Regions from separate parts of the Homo sapiens genome. Here region 1 is linked to region 2. Evidence: promoter capture Hi-C in human tissues and cell types (Jung and others, 2019). All regions are on one chromosome and are shown on one strand. The core of a region is centred on a gene start or on the middle of the fragment in contact, and the rest is flanking DNA. Distances in the headings are between cores, read along the strand shown.

Region 1 (5,107 bases), core at 1,482-3,981, 88 kb after region 2:
CCAGTTATTTTTGGATTCTGTTCACATAGCACTGAGACTTTGCAGTGTTCGTATCAATGTGACCTAAAATGCACACAATATGCTTCCATTTAAAAGTGAACACTATATTTGACACTGATATATGAAAAACCATTGTGAATCTCTGACTCCGAAAAATTCAGTGTTCCTAAATGGTAGCTTTACTGGCACTAATGCTTGCTTGCAGCAGCTCTTTGAAATGTTCTCCTTCAAAAGAAGGCACACCTGGACTTCTCTAGCCCCAGACTACAGCTGATAACCTGAATGAAATCGCAACAATGTCTTTAGGAGGGTTCCCTTAATTTTCTGAAACATTAAGAGTAGTGCTGGCCTAATTTTGGCATTTAAAAAGCTTTTAGAGGCCGGGCGCGGTGGCTCACGCCTGTAATCCCAGCACTTTGGGAGGCCGAGGCAGATGGATCATGAGGTCAGGAGATCTAGACCATCCTGGCTAACACGATAAAACCCTGTCTCTACTAAAAATACAAAAAAATGAGCTGGGCGTGGTGGCAGGCGCCTGTAGTCCCAGCTACTTGGGAGGCTGAGGCGGGAGAATGGTGTGAACCCAGGAGGCAGAGGTTGTAGTGAGCCGAGATCGCGCCACTGCACTCTAGCCTGGGCAACAGAGCGAGACTACATCTCAAAAATAAATAAATAAATAAAAATAAATAAAATAAAAAGCTTTTAGAAACAGAGAACCCATTGTGAAAATGCTTAACAAACCGTATACTATGGTAACCATTATTATCTATTACAGTTATCTGAGATTTATGTTGGGTATGGGTTTTTTCAAGAACATTATCAAAATTATCAGCATGAAGCAATTAATGGTATCTTTAAACATGCATAACTAATTATCAACTCTTCTATAAACTTGATCACCAAACTACTGTAAAGATAAAACAGAAGCATATTTTCAGGATACTTTCAATGACTGACTATGACCAAGTAACTATACAAAGTCTACCAATAATATAAATAACCTCGTAACTAAAAGCCTTAATGTAATCATCCAAATGAATACCACTTTTCCCAAAGAAGTTACTTTGGAAAGGTTCACTCATCCAATGATGTAGGTGTTGTTCATAACATTCTGAGACCCTCTTTTGAAACTTCCTAAAGAGCTAACTGGTATTATTAGCTAGAAAACACTGACAGTGGTATAGCTTGATCAATGATGAGACTTTTAGTTGTCACTGACTGTGTGTGAAGATGGAGAAATTCAGTTGGGTAATATAACGTAGGTAACAAAAAATTCCACAGAAAGCAAAAGACAATATATATATTTTACATATATATATAATTTGGGGTGGCTCTGAAGGCAATTCTTAATAGTTCCAAAACTTCTGTTCAAAGCAGACACTGATGGATTATAGGAAGAACTTCCCAATACAGAATACTCACTTTGATAAGTTCTAAAAGTATCTACTCTTAAAGTCTTAACTACATTCTAGTCATAAATTAAGATATAATACTGACTTGAACTAACATATCATGAAAATCACAAATTTATTAACATGTGAAGATTTCTCTTTACGGGTCTAGTGTCTATACTTTTCGGGTCAGAAACCTTTGGATAATCCATCATCAAAAATAAAGATGACAAAACAAACTATTACTCAAGTTTGGTATTACGATGTCATTTTTAAGGATTATTGTTGTTACAGTTTTACTCTGATGGAAATGAAATGGAAAAACTAACAGAAGGGATAATCTACGTACTAGTTAAATGATTTGCATATGCATAGGCTACATGTTCTTAAAATTGTTTCCTTACTCTCATGGCCATCAAAACATTTTATTTGCCTTCCTGGGGTGGTCAACTCAGGGCGTTCATGAGGCAGTAGCTAAGGGTTGCTCATGTATCTTTGTATTGGTAAGATACAGTGTCAGTGTGAAAAAATGACCAGAAGGAAAACAGACAAGGCAACTGGTTAAATGTATGTAACCCATCACTTCTACTGGAAAAACACCACTACTGAAAGAAGAGCAGACACATAAGTTTAATACCCAGAGAGTAGAGTACATTACTAATACAAATACCAGTGAAGGTTATTTTAGGCCCTTCTTAAGACAGAGTAAAGATATACCCTTAATAGTTTGCTTTATTTTCAAAGTTAAAAGCCAAATGAACAACTGCCTACCAAATGAGGTTTTTTGAAACTCAAAAGCATGAGGGAGAGGTCAAAAGGAGAATAGTTACCATTGGAACCACTGGCATGAAAAATACAGTTACATTCATGAAACAGTACTGGCTACTAATTAAGAGGCAATGTTCTCTCTACCATGACCTCCTTGAATAAACTTTCTCTTACAGAATGTTCATCTCCTATGCTTAAAGAAATGGATAGGGCAAACAGGCTGAGATGCAACAAGTCAAAATAAATACCGATCTATTCTAAGGAACTTAGGTTTTCAGAAAAAGCACAATTTGGCCTTTTTGGTCCCAAATTCAAGATTAAATGATGCTTTAGCTGTCACTAGCAGGCCCAAAGCACAGTATGAAACTGGGAAAAAGAGAAGATAGGGAAAGGTAACAAAATAGACTGTGGTGGAAAGTAACATGGGACAACTTAGTCTCCTGTAACAAAAAGATTACTCCTGACCTAAAGAATGAGAATGTAACAACAGAGATGATTCCATGACCAAGAATAAGATTATACGGTTATGTCAATACCCAGCTTGGAGAATCCACTACTTTTGAGGTTTAGTTGGGGAGTTAGGATGCAATTTTCTTTATTGCTTATCTGCTCAGTAAAAACTTTCTGACAATAAACATTAAACAACTTGGATTCAAAAATTCACAAAGCAATATTATCTATGTTACCAAAGATAAAAGAACCTTTATTTAAAAGGGCTTTAAGCTGTAGTTATCAATTGGTTCAAAACTGTGAACAGTAAGAAAAACTTTAGAAAAATCTCCCTTGAGCTGCTAAAAAAGGAAAATAACATACCCTTTTAATATCAGTGATGGCACTCACTGAGCTGGGATACTTGAAATAATCAGCAAGCATGGCAATGAGGTGATCAGTTATGCTAGCGATTCTCTGTAGCTCAACATCTGGTTCAATCAGATAGGCAAGTGTCTCAGCTCCTTCAACTCTCTCCTCTAGTAATCTCTCCTTACTGCACATTCGAACCAAACAAGGTAATGTCTGAAAGGTAGTGAGATTAATTATTTGCTTTTTGGTAAAGGTAAAAGCTTAAGCATATAGTGACTGAATCAACTCAATAGCTTTTATCAGGAGTAATGTTTATGATCATATATTTCCTTTACTGACTTCTAGAGAATAAAAGATTTTTTTAAAATGCAAAAACAAGCAAAATTCAGTACACATTAATAATTTGTACTGGCACATTAAACTCTATTCGTACGTCAAAGTATATTAATACAAATTCTAATTAGGCTTTTGGGACCGATAAGACAAGTTTTATTGTACAACTTTGTAAAAGACATTTAAGAATCCCTAACAAATCATGTCTGATGGTTCTGCCCTATCTATCTATTTATTTACCTAAAAAAGACCCAGCAGTTTAATCAGGAATGATTTTGCCTTAGGAAAAGTATGCTATCTCTTCCTTAGTGAGTAATATCGTTTATTTTTTGGTTTGGGGAGTCATACCTACAGTTGCCAAAACAAAATACAGCTTTAAAACTGCAGTGATCTTACCATTACTCAGATTCCACCAGTTCTACTATAATGCAACTGAAATGTATCACAGTTGCTAGGTTTTCCCAGTAACTTGCTGGAATTAGCAGTGGTATCCATGAGTCCAATTTTACTTCTGAGGTCCCTCAAAAATCTTGGCAATGGTTTGGTAACTTATCTACATTAGGTTCTCAATAAAAATATTACAGACATTTACTATTTCTTTTTCTTTTTTTTTGAGACGGAGTCTCGCTCTGTCGCCCAGGCTGGAGTGCAATGGCACGATCTCGGCTCACTGCAACCTCTGCCTCCTGGATTCAAGCAATTCTCCTGCCTCAGCCTTCTGAGTAGCTGGAATTACAGGCACCCACCACCACTCCTGGCTAATTTTTTATTTTTAGTAGAGATGGGGATTCACCAGGTTGGCCAGGCTGGTCTCGAACGACATTTACTATTTCTAAGCCTGACGGATCCACTTGAAAGGACAATGTGGAAGTATAAATTGAAATGTTATCATTATAGAAAGTCTTCCTCAAATACTGCAGGCAACTGTGCTTTGCTCTTTTATATATAATAAGTTCCTATTATATCTTTTACCACAGAGCTTAGCACTTCATCGTTCACTACTAATTTCCTATTAGGCTAGTAGAAGCTTTATAATTCAACCCTAGGTTTCCAAGGGGAAGGCCCTATTCTTTTTTCCCTAACATTACTAGTTACTAATATTTATTGATACCATAAATTCATGAATTATGTAATCTAATGCTCATGACTACTATGTGAAGAATATACTACTAACATTTTACCAATGCAGAAAAAGAGGAAGGTTAGAGAAGTAAATAAATCAAGATAAATGCTATGGAAGTCCGTGGCACTCTATGAAGAGTTGTTTACTTAGGGAGTGTTCAGATCTCATTAAATTAATTCTCTTCCCCAAAGACTAAAGCAAATATTAGTCTTCTTTGTGCTCTTTTATCCTTGGGATCACCTTTTGAACAATGATAATGTGAGATCTCATATTTATAAAATGACACATCATCAATTTACTTATACTTAATTTTTTATAGCTAATAAGACATTTTAATGTATTTAATATATTGTTATCCTCACAATAACCCTGTGCATAGATGAGCAGGAATTATTGCTTCAATTTTCATAATCTGGAGTCCGAGGCATCAAAAGAATAAAGGATGTACAGTCAGAGGTGGGAGTGCTAAAACCAGAATCCAGGTTTTAGGACTTTTAGGGCTGGTCTTTTCTCCAGGTTTTTCTAAATTCAAGTTGTATATGACATATCACAATGACAATGCTTGTTTTCATGTGTTATCTACTTATTCTCTTTCATTATGCCTTTTGATTATCAGCTATGAGAATGATATAAAGTCTTTTTCTGCAAAAGTGGCAAATCGTCTGCCTCTAAAACTGTAGTACAAATTTAA
Region 2 (5,134 bases), core at 2,353-4,852:
GTATTTTTAGTAGAGACGGGGTTTCACCACGTTAGCCAGGAGGGTCTCGATCTCCTGACCTCGTGATCCACCCGCCTTGGCATCCCAAAGTGCTGGGACTGATTACAGGCGTAAGCCACTGCACCCGGCCAACAGTAATACTGGTTTTAATGTCAAGAAACTTTGAAACGCATTACCTCTCTCCACAACATTCCTGAAAGGTAGGTCTTATTTCCCTGTTTAAAGATGAGGAAACAAGCCGGGCATGGTGGTGGACACCTGCAGTCCCAGCTGCCTGGGAGGCTGAAGTGGGAGGATTGCTTGAGCCTAGGTGTTCCAGGCACCTCGCAACATAACAAGACCCCATTTCTTTAAAAAAAAAAAAATTTAAAGATGAGGAAACTAAGACTGACTGAATAAGCTGAAGTAGCTTCACCCAAGCTTAGACAGGTAGTAGGTGTATCTGTGATCCAGCCCACATCTGTCTGACCCTAAAGTTCCCAGTTCTACCACTCCCAGCTGCCTTCCTCAGAGCAAGGCACAGGAGGGACCTGCTGTTACTTGTGGAAAAAAGAAGACATTACACCTGGAAGGAGAGAGGAGTTAGGTTAGACGAAGATGTGTATATACATTCTTATCTTCTACGATGAAAAACGGGAAGGCATCCGAGGAAGCACAGCCTGCTTTGGTCTATGATTTCCTCTTAAAGTGAGGAGGGTCATTCTTGTTTTACAGAGTCACATCAGTTCTGAAGCATTTTGATAAAGAAAATGCTCCTAGTGTCCAATTTGGGTCTCAGAAGGGTTTATTTTGAGTAAACCACCACCTTGTGGCAATAAACATGAGTTGCAGGAGGAAGAGTTTGGTTTTTAATCTTTTGAACTCTAAAACACCTCAGTAGCCCTTAAATTTAGTTAGCAGGTTTTGCATTAAAATAAAACAAACAAAAAAGTACATCACTGAGGGAAGGGCTGATTAAAAATAGATACATTTGAAAAAATCTGACTTTTGGATAATAAATAAAAACACTGACCCAGCGGGGAGCAGTGGCTCATGCCTGTAATCCCAGCACTTTGGGAGGCTGAGGCAGGCGGATCATAAGGTCAAGAGATCTAGACCATCCTGGCCAACCAACGGGGTAAAACCCCATCTCTACTAAAAATACAAAAATTAGCTGGGCATAGTGCCACATGCCTGTAGTCCCAGCTACTCGGGAGGCTGAGGCAGGAGAATTGCTTGAACGCGGGAGGCGGAGGTTGCAGTGAGCTGAGATCACGCCACTGCACTCCAGCCCAGGTGACAGAGCAAGACTCTGTCTCAAAAAAAAACCAAAAAAACAAAAACAACAACAACAAAAAAAACCATTCACCTGTGTCACAAAACATGTAAAAGATGGAAGTTTTATTAAAAAGCAGGAGTGGCCCAAGGTGATTCATCTGGGAAAAAACTGATGAGGTTCCATGTTGTCCAAACTGTAATTTTTTTTTTCTTTGAGATGGAGTCTTGTTCTGTCACCCAGGCTGGAGTGCAGTGGCACGATCTTGGCTCACTGCAACCTCCGTCTTCTGGGTTCAAGTGATTCTCCTGCCTCAGCCTCCCAAGTAGCTGGGATTATAGGCATGCACCACCAGGCCCAGTTATTTGATACTTTTTTTTAGTAGAGACAGGGTTTCACCATGTTGGCCAGGCTCCTGCCCTCAAGTGATCCACCTGCCTCGGCCTCCCAGAGTGCTGGGATTACAGGCGTGAGCTACTGCACCCTACCCAAACTGTACACTTTTGAAAGTGAGAGGGGTTGCTATTAATAATTGCATGGGACAACAGGTGAAAAGTGGGGGTGTCCCAGGCAAACTGGGACATGTGGTTTACCTAAATTTGTTTCTGAGGTTTAGCCTGGCAAAGATGTGAGTACATTTTGTAATAGAGACCACATGGTAAGAAATTTAACCCTTTCAGAAAGAATAAATGTCACTATCTTTCCATGTGCTGGCAAGAGGAATTTAGCATCTGATTTGAATTTTATTTTGGAAACTAAATTCTAAGGGAGATTCCACACCATTCAAGAGCTTCAGCAACCACCACCTTGTGGCAATGAACATGATTTGCATCTAGTCAACTCAGTTTGCAATGTGGTGTCTTAAGGACTGCCTGTGGCTCTGCGTAATATTATCATGGAACTGAATATTGCCATGGGACTGAATGCAAGAAAAGAGTAGGTGGATTCGGAGCTGAAGTGGGAGAAGGCAGGATGACAGGTAGGAAGATGTTCGGTCTCCAGTATACCCATCGCCCTGTACTTCACAGAGGGTTGCTGGGTACCTCATGGCCAAACAGGGTATCAGCACTCCCTGGATGGAAATCATTTGGTGTATGCTTCACTTAGGAAGAATTGATATCTTAACAATATTAATTCTTCCTATCCATGAACACGGAATATTTCTTCATTTATTTAAATCTGTGAGATCTCTTTCATCAGCTGTGATTGATTCCTAGTTTAATTCTATTGCAGTCAGAGAACATACTTTGTTCTATCCTTTTAAATTTGTTAAGCTATGTTTTATGGCCTAGATTGTGGTCTATCTCAGTGAATGTCCCATGTGAGCTTGAGAAAGAATCTATATTCCGCTGTTGTTGAACTAAATATTGCATAAATGTCAATTAGATCAATTTGATATTTTTCAGTTCAACTATATCCTTGCTCATTTGCTTCTGCTGGATGTATTAATTACTTTTTAAAAATGGTATGAAAGCATTCTATTATAATACTGAGTTTACCTATTTTTCCTTGCAGTTTTATCTTCTTTTGCCTCACATATTTCGGTGCTCTGTTTTTAAGTACATACATATTAAGTATTGTTATGTCTTCCCAAATAACTGATCCCTTTAACTTTATGTAATGTCCCTGTTTATACCTGATAAATTTCCTTGTTCTGAAGTCTGCTTTTCTTGAAATTAACATACCTACTTCAGCTATTTTTTTAATTAGTGTCAGCCTGGTATAGCTTTCTCTATCCTTTTGCTTTTAATGTATTTTCTTGTGGATAACACACGATTGGGCTTTGTTTGTTTTTGAAATCCATTCTGACAATCTCTTTTTTAATTGGTGTAATCAGATTATTCACATTTAAAGTGGTTATTGATACAGTTGGATTAATATCTACAATGTCTGTAACTGTTTTGTATGTGTCTCACTTGACTTTCATATCTAATTTTGAATTTGTAATTTCATATTCTTTGCCTTAAAGAGAACGCTTGCAGATCCCTCAAAACCTGGAGACACCCCCCACCTTGCACACATTATACCGGTATGTGATGGTAGAAAAGCTGCACATCAGTCTTGGCAGGCAGGGCAGGAGGGATGCAGGGATTCACAGATGCGACTGTGCAACGCACAGATGCACTGGGTCTTTGCTTGGTGGGTTCGAAGCCTCCAGACGCTGACAAACACTGCAGCCAATGAGTGGGTTCCTATGGTCCGATATGGAGGGCAAGGGGCGGGACTCCCTCCTGCCTCTCCCTGGCTGGGTTCAGAGCCTCCGCGGAGAGACTGCGTTGGGCCCAGAGTGGGCGTGGCTTACGTGTCCGCCGGCTTTCCTGGCAGGCCTGGCGGGGGGGCCAGGTTGCCATGACGACCGCGGCTAGGTCGCGGCAGACTCGGTTGGTGACTCCGGGCGCGTCGAAGATCTTGTACCTGTCGTTCGCAGTGGCTCACTTTCCCAGTAATCCATAAGAACAGCAGGGATAACAGGGTCCCATGTCGTTTTTTTGTCAGAATTCCTCGACTGGCGACCCTGTGCCCGACAGGCTGCACCGCGCCCGGCGCACTGACTCCGGCCTCTGCGCGCGCCCCCTGGCCGGCTCCGGGGTGGGGAGGGGGCTTCGCAGATCCCCAGAAAACCGCCCGGCGAGCCACGAGCCCGTGGACTGCAGGCTCCGCTTCCTCGCGGGGTGTTCACTTTGTATCAGTGTGCTGATTTGCCGCCAGTTAGAAGCACCTTAAAAAGGGGCCGGGGGCCGTAGGAGGGGGGCTTGTCTGAAGGAGGCTCTGGGCTTGCTGATCCACGCAGCGGTTTGTCGCGAGGCTGCGGGGGAACGGCCCACGGCCGCGGTAACAGGGCTTCGTCTTCTTTGCAGAGCCATGGGCAGCAGGAAGAAGGAAATTGCCCTGCAGGTAAGCCTCAAGGGGCGCTAGCTTCCAGCTCTGGGTTGGGCTCGGGGAAGAGGAGGGTGATTAGAGCGGGGTTGCAGTATAAAAGTGACATTCTGTTTGCCAGCAGTACGTGACAGTGTTCTCAAACTTGAGTGATGTACCCTTCCGTCTTAAAGGGACAAAACTTATCTTGGAACCCCAGTGATGACAAATTTTACGCAAACAAAATTAATGCAAACAAAACTGAGTAGAAGCTGTTTACATTTATAGTGCTTATACAACCATAAAACCTAAACATGCATTAAATAAAACTATAAACTAAGAAAATACGAATCAACATAACTCGATGTGACCGTTATTTTGTTCTTGTTGAAATACAACTGCAGCTTGCACAGAGAATACAGTATAGGTTCTTTTGACTTTGGGCATGAGTCTGTAACTGTGTGCTCTGTGGAGACCCAGTTTTCCCACCACTGTTCTCATCAAATTTCACTTATTAACAAATATGTTTTGAGATATATTATGTGCTGGACATATGTTATATAGAGTGTCTTACTTCATTTGCATGTGGGACAAGTGAATTCAGAAGCCAGCAGCTGCTCTTCTTCTTGGTCCTGGACAATAGATAGTGGTTGATTCTGAAGTGATGGTAAAAACATGCAGGCATAGACCCTGGAATTAGGAGAGAGTGCTTGGTCATAAGGAGATCAGCTGGATGATCTGCAACATGGGAACATTTTAAAACGAACTTAAAATGCCTCATCATCAGCTGGCCCCAGTAAGATGCATACCAAGGCTACAGCGCCTCCTAGATAATAGAGCATTAGTGGTTTTGAGACATCTGGTTTCTCTCTTATTGTCCTCAGCAGGACCAGCAGTTTGCATGTGGATTTCAAAAGCCTAGTGGTTTAAAAAAGAGGAAAGGGGAAAGCAGCATCATTCTAAGGGTACCCCATGCTGGGGGTGGGAGGGGTGTGGGGTGGGGTGGGGTGGGATTTTTAGACT

The links. The method cuts DNA at HindIII sites, captures the fragments that hold promoters and counts their contacts. A contact is called where the count stands out against the background at its distance.
Region 1: a fragment that was not itself captured here is called in contact with the fragment with the promoter of NME9 in region 2 in 4 of the 25 tissues and cell types used here (aorta, mesendoderm cells, pancreas and 1 more).

Annotation. Positions count from the first base shown.
Region 1 is chr3:138,239,849-138,244,955 of GRCh38, reverse strand. ARMC8 (armadillo repeat containing 8) reads right to left here. Exons shown (of 22, transcript NM_001363941.2): 11 at 2,973-3,173. Among named protein-coding and RNA genes, the nearest start is that of ARMC8, 55 kb to the right of the region's middle. The HindIII fragment of the contact is 4,392 bases long and covers 536-4,927 here.
Region 2 is chr3:138,328,319-138,333,452 of GRCh38, reverse strand. It overlaps NME9 (NME/NM23 family member 9), which reads left to right and starts at 3,602. Exons shown (of 11, transcript NM_001349018.2): 1 at 3,602-4,150. The coding sequence starts at 4,118. LOC124909438 (a long non-coding RNA gene) reads right to left here and starts at 3,520. Exons shown (of 2, transcript XR_007096113.1): 1 at 3,283-3,520. The HindIII fragment of the contact is 18,429 bases long and covers 1-5,134 here.